Linked DNA regions of Homo sapiens: region 2 is linked to region 1. The links are contacts of gene promoters, found by promoter capture Hi-C in blood cells and fetal thymus (Javierre and others, 2016). All regions are on one chromosome and are shown on one strand. Each heading gives the region's core, a stretch centred on a gene start or on the middle of the fragment in contact. The rest is flanking DNA. Distances are from core to core; before and after follow the strand shown.

What was found. The method cuts DNA at HindIII sites, captures the fragments that hold promoters and counts their contacts. A CHiCAGO score of 5 or more calls a contact.
Region 2: a contact is called between a fragment that was not itself captured here and the fragment with the promoter of GPX2 in region 1, in 1 of 17 cell types (erythroblasts). The highest score is 6.2, in erythroblasts.

Annotation. Positions count from the first base shown.
Region 1 is chr14:64,939,675-64,945,495 of GRCh38, forward strand. GPX2 (glutathione peroxidase 2) reads right to left here and starts at 3,071. Exons shown (of 2, transcript NM_002083.4): 1 at 2,831-3,071; 2 at 1-164. The coding sequence starts at 3,052. The region is part of intron 3 of CHURC1-FNTB (CHURC1-FNTB readthrough); the gene reads left to right. The HindIII fragment of the contact is 4,140 bases long and covers 827-4,966 here.
Region 2 is chr14:64,669,411-64,675,822 of GRCh38, forward strand. No RefSeq gene overlaps it. Among named protein-coding and RNA genes, the nearest start is that of PLEKHG3, 32 kb to the right of the region's middle. RefSeq lists an enhancer at 5,976-6,412. The HindIII fragment of the contact is 178 bases long and covers 1,296-1,473 here.

The DNA.
Region 1 (5,821 bases), core at 1,821-4,320:
TCATCATAAGGGTAGGGGAGCTTGTCCTTCAGGTAGGCGAAGACAGGATGCTCGTTCTGCCCATTCACCTCACATTTTTGGACAAGGGTGAAGGTGGGCTGGTATCCACCCCCAGGACGGACATACTTGAGACTGTTCAGGATCTCCTCATTCTGACAGTTCTCCTAGGGGAGGAAAAAGACAAAGTGCGTGGACAGTGGGTGGGGGAAGAGAAAGATCCACAACATGAAACTCTTTCACCCTCCTACACTCCCTCCCCAGGGTCATTCTTTTTCACTGTGAAAGAGAGAGAGACAAGACAGACGAGGTGTTGCTCACTGCAGCCTTGAACTTCTGGGCTCAAGCATTCCTCCTGCTTCAGCCTCTTTAGTAGCTGAGACTACAGACACAGGCCACCATGCCCGGCTAATTTTTTTTTTTTTTTGTAGAGATGGGGTCTCACTTTGTTGCCCATGCTTTGGCTGCTCTTCAAGATTTAGCACTTCTGAGCTGTTGCTTTTGTCTCCAGTCTACCCTGAGCAGTTCTTAAGGTGTTTGAAGCAGAAGAAAGAGAAAAGAGGCTTAGGTTATACTGCTTAGAACCTCCTCTTCAACTAACCTACCGACCCACCTACCCATAAATCCATACCTACACACACACCCCTTTCCTTTCCTCTGCCCTGGTTTTGCCTCGCCTGCTTTCAATTGCACGTGTGTTGAGTATAGCCTTTGCCTCTGCCTACTCAGCTCCTTGAACTGAGGGTGAAATTGAGACCCAGAGGAATGGGATTTACAGCTTCTTGCTTTCTTCTTGCCTTGTCCTAGAACTGAAGTACAAATGGGAAGAAGCTTTGATGAAGGAAGACCCCCATCCAAGAACATCTAGTTTTCAGGTGCCATAACAGCAGAGCAAGTTCAAGGCAACAATGAATGTGTACTCTAAATGGAACTACTTAGTAACCAACAGGCATGAAGTAAATAGGATACAGGATTTAGGGTTTGGCAATAGGCCAGGGGGAGGGGGAGTTGAGGAAATAAGTGCTTGATGGCTAAAGATTGTGAGTATGTAATTATCATTCTTTTCTTGAGTAGGCTGCTACCCAAAGACTGCTGCACCTCCTATCCACTCACTGCTCTCAGCTACGCATGCTTTGGCTCAAAACCTGGTCCCTGCCTTTCCCTCCCCACTGCCATCCCTGTCCTATTCCCTCTCAGCATCACCATTCATGACAATCCAAAAGGCCTATGGGAACCCTTCTTTTCCACCTCTACCTTTCCAATTTAACAGACAGATACCTTCCTCTGGGAGAAAGTTCCTGCTTCTGACCTGTGAGAACTAACTAGTTCAGTCAGTTCCAGGCCATCATGACATCATGAGCCCAGAGCTGATCTCTAGTGGACTTCTCTGTTTTTGTTTCTGTTTTTTTTCCTGAGACAGGGCCTCACTCTGTCACCTAGGCTGGGGTGCGGTGGCACAATCATAGCTCACTGCAGCCTCGACTTCCCAGGCTCAGGCGATCCTGCTACTTCAGCGTCCCAAGTAGCTGTGACTACAGGCACATGCCACCATGCCTGGCTAATTTTTGCAATTTTTTGTAGAAACAAGGTTTCACCATGTTGCTCAGGCTAATCTTGAACTCCTGAGCTCAAGCAATCTGCCTACCTTAGCCTCCCAAAGCGCTGGGATTATAGGTGTGAGCCACTGTACCCTGGCAGATTTCTATTTCTTGATACAAATGGCTGGCTGGCTCCTGGTAGGTTATAGACTCCCTCCAGCAACTTGCTAGGCTGAAGAGATGGTGTGAGGCTGGAGGTACTTCTGGGGCTGGAGGGACATCTCGAAAGAGGGTTTGCTACTTCTGTCTCTCCTGCTCTAGAAAAGGCCAGACAGAAAACTTAGGGAAGAACAGTGAGAGCAGTGAACAGTTTGGGCTCAGGTTTGTCACAGCCAGTGATGCTTCAGCCTTCCTGCTTTCCTGTCTTCCTCACCTTCATACCACTGTGAATTGAACTAAGGGGATTATAACGAGAGGGTTCGCTTGGGTTCATTCTCCCTGCTTGTACGTTAAAATCATAGGTGGAAATAGAAGAATCCCTAAAAGAGAACTCGAGGTGTGTGGGCTGAAGATCTATAACAGCTTGACCCATTAATCAGAAATAGGTGCATGTAATGCCCAGAGGCACGTGCCTTTTGAAAACCTTTCTCTTTCCTGCTTATTTTCTTTCCACTTGGCTAATTTAAACCAACAAAAATCATCCTCAATCTAAATAACAGTTTGCTTGCATTTGCATAGTACTTTATATTTTTCAAGTTACTTTTGTATATCCTGTCCCCTAAACATCATAATAATCCTATGAGCTAAGTGGTATTATCCCCAATTTACAGATGAGGAAACTAAACCGAAAAATGAAGCGCCCTTTCCGAGGGCACAGAGCCATTAAATAGCAAAACCAAGTCCAGCTAGAGCTAAGGTCTCTTGAGTCTGTCCAATTCTTGTTTGATTCCTGGCCTCTACTTTCTCCACTCATTTATTCAACAAATATTTAATGAGTGCTTTCTGTGCCCTAGGCACTGAGGACACAGTGGAGAGAAACACAGACCTGGAACCAGCCCTCATGGAGTAATATAGTAGAAAGACAGTAAACTATAAAAATCACACAGCCTCAGTGTTTAATCTTAAAAAATATATACCTTCTCTTGGTATGTCACATGCACCTAAAGACCTAGCTTAACAAAACATACCCCATTATTCCAGACACTCCAAAACATGGTCATTCAGCCTCTCCTTTTATCCCACCTGAGCTACACCAACCCAACACTTTTGGTGCATTACAAGGAGGGACCCCTCACCTGATGTCCAAATTGGTTGCAAGGGAAGCCAAGGACCACCAGGCGCCTGGGAAAGCGGCATTGCAGCTCGTTGAGCTGGGTGAAGTCCCGGGTGGTTGTGCCTCAGAGCGAAGCCACATTCTCAATCAGCACGGCCCTGCCCCGGAACGTATTGAAATCTACCTTCTCCCCATCCAGGCTGATGGCACTGAGGTCATAGAAGGACTTGGCAATGAAAGCCATGGTGAAGCGCAGAGTGAGCCCCGCAGAGAGGCCTGAGCCCACTTATGAGCCTATTAGAGGGGTGGGGAGGAAGGAGGAGCCAGGAAGGAGGACAGAAAGGATCTAACAATGGAGCTTTGAGCATCCCCAGGATGACTTAGCAAAAACAGGTCCCCACCTGTAAGTGCTGTTTGAACAAGGAGGTTGCTCCTCCTATTAACAGACTGAACAAGGCCGCCTCCCCGCCCCACCCTGCTGCAACCTGGGAAGGGCCAATTTGATATCTATGAGCAGAGGTAAATAATTCACTGCTTACAGGAAACCAGAGCCCTAAAGGTCGAATGGAGAGGAAAAAAAGGGAGGGAGGGATGCAGGATTGACTCCTACTTGCCCCATCAAGTTGTTCTCATTTGACACAGACGTTTATTGAATGCCTGCTGAGTGTCAATCTCTGAATTGTACAGTGAGAGGGCAGGGTCTGCGGAGATCTGAAAGATGAAGAAGAGAATTGAGCCTCCTATCCATGGGACTCAGATGACAACTGAAATATACATATTCCTGTTCACGTTCTTCTCTTTGTTGCTTTCCACCAGGACAAAATCAAAGGGACCCTTAGGAGGAGAGTGTGTCATTTTCTAGGGGAAAAAAGAAGTTTTCAGTGCCTCAGCTCTTGCCAGGCTGAAGAGACAAAGTTGTGTTTATCTTGAAAAGTCTTTCAGTGCGTGGTGCCACTTGTCCTGGAGAACACACCAGCCTCTGCCCCTGCACTGTACCATCTCCTATATTATATCCCCCACCTCCACCTCATCCCCCAGCCCCCAAGTCATGAGGCTCAGTCGTTGCTGGGAGAATGGTGAAGAGGAGTCACAGAACAGGTGGATAAACTTAGTGGATGAACTGCACCTACCTTCCTCTCAGACAGAGATTTGGTCCCCAAGACTTTTCAGAGCGGGTTTGTGCTGGTCACCTTCCCACAGAAGGAAGTGTGTGGAGGAAGTTGAAGCTGCTGTGGTTCCAGACGCAGGCAGGTCACCCCTGATGCTTTCAACAAGAGGCGTGCAGTGCATCGCAGGACATCTGCTAAGGGCCATCTCAGAGGCCCACCCCTGGAAGCCACAGAAACCGAAAAGACCCAAGCACCCGCCAACTCAACAAGTTACTCTTTTAAAAATGCCTTGATTTCTTCATCAGTAAAACTAGCAATGGGGCTTGACCTAGCTTTGGGATTTTAGAGTGAAATTTCAATAACAAAGCAAATGTTTACTAGGGTGTTTTCACAGGGGCACATCCATTGGGAACTGTCTCCTTGGAACAAAGAATAAGCAAGTCCGGGGAGCAGCTGGTCTTGAGAATCTGATTTGTTGAGATGAGATGAAGTAATTATCACCAGGGAGCGCCAAGCTGCCTTGCAGCTTTTCCATGGCTGTTCAAGTATACAGGGACCATGTGTCTCAGCTGGCTGCTCCCTAAAAACAAGTTTCCATTACCTAAGTGGACAGAAGGAGTGACAGGAAGTGTAGAGGGAAGTGTGTCCCCTGCTGAAGCTGGGTGGAGTTCCTAGAAGCAACCAATAAGAAAGAGTCCCCACCAAGCCACTGAGTCACAAGGACTTGGCACTGATAGTGGGCAGAACTGTAACTTGCCGGATTTATGTGCATACCTAGAGCTTCCCCCTAGTACTCTCTGGGCCTCCAGAGACACCTCTTATTCTCTGCTCTTTTGCAAGCCTTCTTCAAGAAGGCCATGGGAGTTCCCAAGATGAGGAGTGTGGGGGTTCCCTCTTCCTTAGGTACATGCCATCCCTTTTCTCCTGGTGTGACCTTGGACCCTTCAGACTCCCAGGGTTCTCACCTTTCCTAATGGAATATACTTGGTGAGGCTCTCCTAAAATATCTCTGTCTCCAAATTTACCTCAAACTGGCCTCGCTTTCCAAAAGCTTACAACTTTAAGCATACACTAAGCAGCGTATGATTCTTATGGCTTTCTGTGGGACAGTGCTTGCTCTGGACACAGCACTGGCTTAGGCAGAAAGCCTGGGTTGGTGGTTCTTAATTCTGACTGCAAATGAGAATTGTTTGTAGGAATTTTTCTAGAGATGCCAAAGCTTTGCCCTCCAGTGATTCCAATTCAGTGGTTTACAACCACAATTCTGCCACTGTTACTTCGGACCCTTAGGCAAATCTTTAAGCTCTTTTTATTGAGACAGGGTCTTTCTCTGTCACCCAGGCAGGAGTGCAATGGTGCAACTGCAGCCTTGACCTTCTGGGCTCAAGTGATCCACTGGCCTCAGCCTCACAAGCCACCACACTCAGCTAATTTTTTCTAGAGACAGTGTCTCACTATGTTGCCCAGGCTGGTCCCAAACTCTTGGGCTCAAGCAGTCCTCCTGCCTCGGCCTCCCAGAGTTGGGATTACAGGCATGAGCCACTGCACCCGGCCAAATCTTTAAGTTCTCTGATCATCTGTTTCCTTGCCTGTGGGACCTGGGTAGATAACCACCCTCCCCATCTCACACGGTGATGGTTAGGGTCAGAAGAGTTTATCTATCACTAGTGCCGGGTAAAGTGTAGTGAAAATCTTAAGACTACTGTTGTCCTGCGTTGTCCTACTCCTTTCTTCATTCAGTCCTTATCCCCAATATTCTCCACCTCCATCAATTCCATATCCCAAAGTATGAAATACCTGCAGTCCTGAGATCCCAGTCTGCCTCTGCTCCCCCGAGGTATCCAATCACAAATCTGAAAGATTATCCAGTCCCACCTCATGCCTTCAGGAAGACCCGTTCCTGA
Region 2 (6,412 bases), core at 135-2,634, 270 kb before region 1:
TTGAGAAATTTGGCAAAAGAAGTTTGGCTCTATTAGGACATCTTTAAACAAGAGTGAGAGGACATGTGGCATCCTGGATGACTGCCAAGGTCGAGCTGGAGTTCTCTGGAGTGATTTGGGTGCTAAATCCTTGGGTGGGGTCCTGACTATGAACTGTTTCTTTATTTTCCAATTGTAACAGTCTCTGAAGGTAAAACTAGCATCAGCAGTATTAATCGTAATAACAATAGGAAATAGGCTGGGCGCAGTGGCTCATGCCCGTAATCCCAGCACTTTGGGAGGCCGAGGCAGGCGGATCACGAGGTCAGGAGATCGAGACCATCCTGGCTAACATGGTGAAACCCCGTATCTACTAAAAAATACAAAAAAATTAGCCGAGCGTGGTGGTAGGCGCCTGTAATCCCAGCTACTCGGGAGGCTGAGGCAGGAGAATGGCGTGAACCCAGGAGGTGGAGCTTGCAGTGAGCCGAGATCGCGCCACGACACTCTAGCCTGGGTGACAGGGCGAGACTCCGTCTCAAAAAAAAAAAAAAAAAAAAAAGGAAATATTTCAGCATACCTATTATGCACCAGGTATTAGTCTAGTCTCATTTAATCTTCACCATGACTCAGTGAGATACAAACTATTCTATTATACCTATATATTTTTAGAGATGAGGTCTCACTATGTTGCCCAAGCCGGAATGCAGTGGCAATTCATAGGCATGATTGTAGTGCACTACGGCCTCAAATTCCTGGGCTCAAGTCACCTTCCTCCCTCAGCCTCTTGCCAAGTCACTGAGAACACAGGTGCATGCCACCACACCCAGCTTTGGGTACTCTTTTTATGTCCATTCCACAGATGAAGAGACCAAGTTTAAAATGGATGACTTGCCTCAAATCACACAGCTATTGAGTAACAGAGCTAGGATTTAAAGGCTGGTTCATCTGACTCCACATTTCAGGAAGTCTTATTTGGGGGTTTCTAGAAATAAGAAGCCTTATTTGGGTTTCTAGAGAAATTTCTTTTTCCAAATCAACTTTATTTTCCCCAGACCCTTTTTGTGAACAGAGTTTACATCAATGAAAAGAAGGCTCCTACAGTGTGGCGTGAATGCCAGTGACGGGAACACCAAAAGCTCTGAACCTCAGGATCAGGGAGACCACAGCCTGCTCCTGGGATTGTCATGAGCCATTTGGCAGGAGGTGGATCTGCACAGTCATGGAGACCAGACTCCTAAGCAGGTCACCTAAGTAAGGTTTCCCTGTACGCTCTCCACAGGGCCTGGGAACTTCAGAATCTTGCCACAGGAGGAAGCTTGATGAGTATTCACCCTCTGATGTTGTAGACAAGGAAACTGAGGTCCAAGGAGATTAAGTAAAGTGCACCCTGTCTGCACGTCCAACATGGGTCTCCTGGCTCTCACACCATTTAGAGATGAGCCATTTTCTCAATAACAAAGGCAAGGCCCTGAGAGATAGTGTAATTGACCAAGCTTCTTCAGGACAGGGATGTGGACTCCACTCCCTTGGGGTCCAGCAAATGCCTTAGTAACAGTGGCTTGTGGATGGAAGGTGTTATTCAAGCCCTTGCTGGATGAATAAATTATATGCACCTGTTTCTCAAAGTTGCCTTAGTGAAAGAATCATTTGGGGCACATGTTAAAGATGAAAGTTCTAGTCTGAATACTAGACTAGAATGAGTCTATTCAGGACCCTGATAGAACAGTGTATATATATATATATATATATATATATATATATATATATATATACTTGTAAATATATATATATATATTTGCAAGCTGTATATATATATATATATATGCAAGCTGTATATATATATATATATATATGCAAGCTGTATATATATATATATGCAAGCTGTATATATATATATATATATGCAAGCTGTATATATATATATATGCAAGCTGTATATATATATATATGCAAGCTGTATATATATATGCAAGCTGTATATATATATGCAAGCTGTATATATATATATGCAAGCTGTATATATATATATGCAAGCTGTATATATATACACACACACACACACACACACACACACACACACACTATATATATATATATATCTCCACACACACTATATATATATATATATCCAGTATATATCCAGGCAGGACCCTGATACACTGTTCTCACTCTTGATCCAGATAATCCCTAACCCATTATCACCTCCCTTTCATGAACTGAAAGTAGTTTGTTTTTAGGTTTGGCTCTATTGCAGGGCTGGATCTATTGCGATTCTGAACACTCATTTTAACCATGACCTTCCTTACCTCCTCTAGGGGGCAGAAATGAACCACTTGTTCATTCTTTGGGGCTGAACTTTGCGACTTTCTCAGACTTTCATAAGAAAACAAATACCCAGAGGAGATCAGAAAGAAAGCAGATCTTATACATGCTTTTCTTACTAGGTTGAAATGCAGTTGCAATCTAGACTCCTCTAAGAGACAAAATACTGTTAGGCACTCTGGCGTTGAATTCAAGCTGACCCAAGTTCAAATCCAGAATCAAACAAGGGTTGGAGAATGCCTCCCATCTTTATGATCCTAGCAGGCTATTTAAATTAATGAAGCCTTAGTTTCTTGTTCTATAAAATTCTAATACAGTCAGCTTTCCATATCCACAGTTTCCACATCTGTGGATTCAACCAACCACAGATAGAAAATATTGAAAAAAACCCAACAATAAAAACAACAATACAACAAAAATAATACAGATAAAAACAATATAGTATAACAACCATTTGCATGGAATTTACATTGTATTAATATTTGACATGATAAGTTATCTAGAGATGATTTAAAGTATAGGAAAGTTGGCCAGGCACAGTGTCTCATATCTGTAATAACGGTACTTTGGGAGGCCAAGGCAGGAGGATCGCCTAAGGCCCCAGGAGTTTGAGATCAGCCTCGTAAACATTAGTAAGACCCTGTCTCTATAAGAACTTAAAAAAAAAATCAGCCTGGTGCTGTGGTGCACCTGTAGTCTCAGCTACTCAGGAGGCTGAGGCAGGAGGATTGCTTTAGCACAGGAGTTTGAGGCTGCAGTGAGCTATGATCATGACACTGCACTCCAGCCTGGGCGAAGGAGTAAGACTCTGTTACAAACAAACAAAGAAACAAAAAAGTATATGGAAGGATGTGCCTAGGTTATATGCAAATACTATACCATTTTATATCAGAAACTTGAGTATCCGTGGATTTTGGTATCCAAGGGGGTGCTGGAGCCAATCCCAGCAAGATACTGAGTGATGACTATAAATAATACCATCTTAACAGGATGGTTATGAACCTTATACTGCAACTGCTAAGAGAAAAAGTCAGCTGTTATTATTACCACAACTATTACTACTGCTTCCTATAAAGGCATGTGATTATTAACTCTGTTAGGAAGGTAGACTCCACTTTTTTAAATAGTTGGCTAAAGCTCTCTAAAGAGACATTCAGCCCACTCTTTTCTGGGTTCTGTACTAGGATGACATTTCACATCCTGGGAGCCAACAATGTGAATAACACAGAGGCTACATTAGACAGAAGGAAACGTGTTGGTTTCCTTAATAAAATCGAACTCATATTTCCTGAGATTGGCTCTGGCTGGCAGGAGACTCTCCACATGGGAAAAGCGGTTAGATCTCTTGGCTGTGTTTTGCCCTCCAAGGCTCACCTTTCCTGGGAGATTTCTCCCTCGTCTCACTGGTACCACCAATGGGTAAGGAAAGCCACACCTCACTCCACCCCACCCCTGGGGGGACTTCCCCTTCACTACCAACATCACGGAATCTGGCTTTGATTTGATTGAGGGTGGCAGTGAGTTTCTTTACCCAGAGACTTGGGGATTATCTTCTTTTTAGCTTCACCTGGAATAGCTTGCAATGTCGGGATCCTTGTTTCCTAAATTGAGATAATAAGAATGAAAATGATAGCAGTGGTTTCCATTTGTTGAGCACGTCTTCTGCGCGACGGCTTGCTCTCATTCCATCTGTACTACAACCCAGTGAATTTGTCCCCATGACGACTGTCATTGTAAAGATGGGGAAACAGAAGCACGAGGAGGAGGTTAGGTCACTTGCTCAAGGCCTCAGGGGTAGTCGGTGAAAGAGTTTAGGACGAGAACCCAGCAGTCTGAACTCACTTGGCTCTGAATGGAGGTGGATAACCACAGACACTGCCTTCCCACCCCTAGAGACACAGAGAGAGCTTCAGTTCCCTGGGTGTGACCCTTTGCTAAGGCACATGGTGGATGAAGAAGGTGTGTACAGCTCCTTTAGGGCAGTCAGCTTGCAAATGTCTGGCCTAGGTGAGAAGAGAGACACCTTTGAGGTCCTCCCACATCAGACAAATTGAGCCCTGCCCCTAAGCACAGATGCTGCTCCCTCTTGTCTTACCTTTTCACCTCCTTATTTATTTACCACTGTGAGGACAACACTCCACAGGGCATGTGAAGACACAGCCCCCGCCCTGGAGCCTCAGAATTTGTCACCGTCACTGGGAGTTGAGGAAATTGCAGTGTTGAGGTTTCTTGCTTCTTCCTCACTGAGAGAGAAAAACCCCAACTGTCAACAAACCTCAAACCCATCGATCAAATGATGCCTGCGGGCAGGAGCTGGGCAGCAGGGTGTATCTGTGGCAAATGAGATCACGAGAGGGCCTGGGCACAGAAAACAAGGTGATAGAAGACAGACGATGAGAAGAGAGGAGGAAGATTGTGCAGAAGGGGAGGAGTGCATGGAAGGGAGGGAGGCCCTTGTGCATGGATTCCCTGGGGAACCAGGCTGCCAGGGCAGAGGGCCAACAGGTGAGGAGGAGAGGAGGGGGCTATAAGTGGGGGGGATCTGAAGAAAGAGCTTCTGTGTCCTAAGAGGTGGGGGAAAAAAAAGAGAGAAATAACCCAAAGAAAGTGTTGCAGAGAACCAATAAGATTAGAATGTCAACGATCCAGACCCATGACCCTGGGGACTGTTGTCACACAAGGGTCTGGTGGTGGGGTTGGGGCAGCTGTGGAGGTTGCTGCTGGTCCCAGTTTTGTCCATATAAAGCAATTCGCAGAGAAGGCTGAGTGGAGGAGGAGGAAGCTGAGATAGTAAAGGAAATAACGTTTAAAAGTTTAGCACAAGCTGGGCGCGGTGGCTCAAGCCTGAAATCCTAGCGTTTTGAGAGGTTCATGTAGGTGGATTGCTTGAGCCTAGTTCAAGACCAGCCTGGGCAACATGACAAAACTCTGTCTCTATAAAAATACAGAATGTTAGCTGGGTGTGGCGGTTGTGCCTGTAGTCCCAACTACTCGGGAGGCTGAAGTGGGAGGATCACAAGAACCTGGGAAGTCAAGGTTGCAGTGAGCTGAAATCTTGCCACTACACTCCAGCCTGGGCAACAGGAGTGAGACCTTGTCTCAAAAAAAAGAAAAAAAAAAGCTACATTTTACATGATTTTATTCATATAAAATTCTGGAAAAGGCCAAATTACTGAGATGGACATCAGGTCGGTGAGGGGGTAAGGGGAGCATGACTGACTACACAAAGGTATGAAGAACCTTTTCGGGGTGATGGAATTGTCCTTATCTTAACTGAGGTGATAGTTACGCAATTGTACACATTTGCCAAAACTCATTGAAAGTTACGTTTTTTTTTCAGACAGTTTCGCTCTTGTTGCCCAGGCTGGTGTGCAACGTCGTGATCTCGGCTCACTGCAACCTCCGCCTCTCAGGTTTGGGAGGCCGAGGTGGGTAGATCACCTGAGGTTGGGAGTTCAAGACCAGCCTGACCAACATGCAGAAACCCTGTCTCTACTAAAAATACAAAAATTAGCTGGGCATGGTGGCGCATGCCTGTAATCCCAGCCACTCAGGAGGCTGAGGCAGGAGAATCGCTTTATTAAGTTTTATTTAGTTAGTTTTATTAAGTTAGTTCAGCCTCTTCTTGGATAAAATTTCAGCCAAGTCCCTGCCTGGACTGTCACCTCCTCTCTGGGTGTGTCCCCTTCCTGCCTCTCCCGCTCCCAGCCCCACCCTGTGGATAACTCTGGGTGCAGGGCTCTGTGTTGCCCTCTGGTCCTCAGTGGCCTTTACATCTGCTGACATCCACAGTCAGGGGTCTGGCTGGGAGGACCTGGTGGTTTACCCGGCTTGTGGGTCCTGTGCCAGCTTTGCTGGTCCTGTAGATACAAACCGGAACCCCTCCCATGTCCCCAGTGCTTTCCATTTATCTCTGGGCTTCAGCCTGAGGCAGGTCCACAGGCTCTCAGCTCTCAATCACCTGTGCATTCCCTAGGGCCTCCTAGGGACTTCTGGGTTTCTCCCAGCCGCACTCAAGCCAAGGGGAACTGAGGTGGGGCAGTGTGAAAGGGGTGGAACACCTAAGGTCCCTGTCCCAGCTTCAACACACCTTGCTGTTGTCTCTACT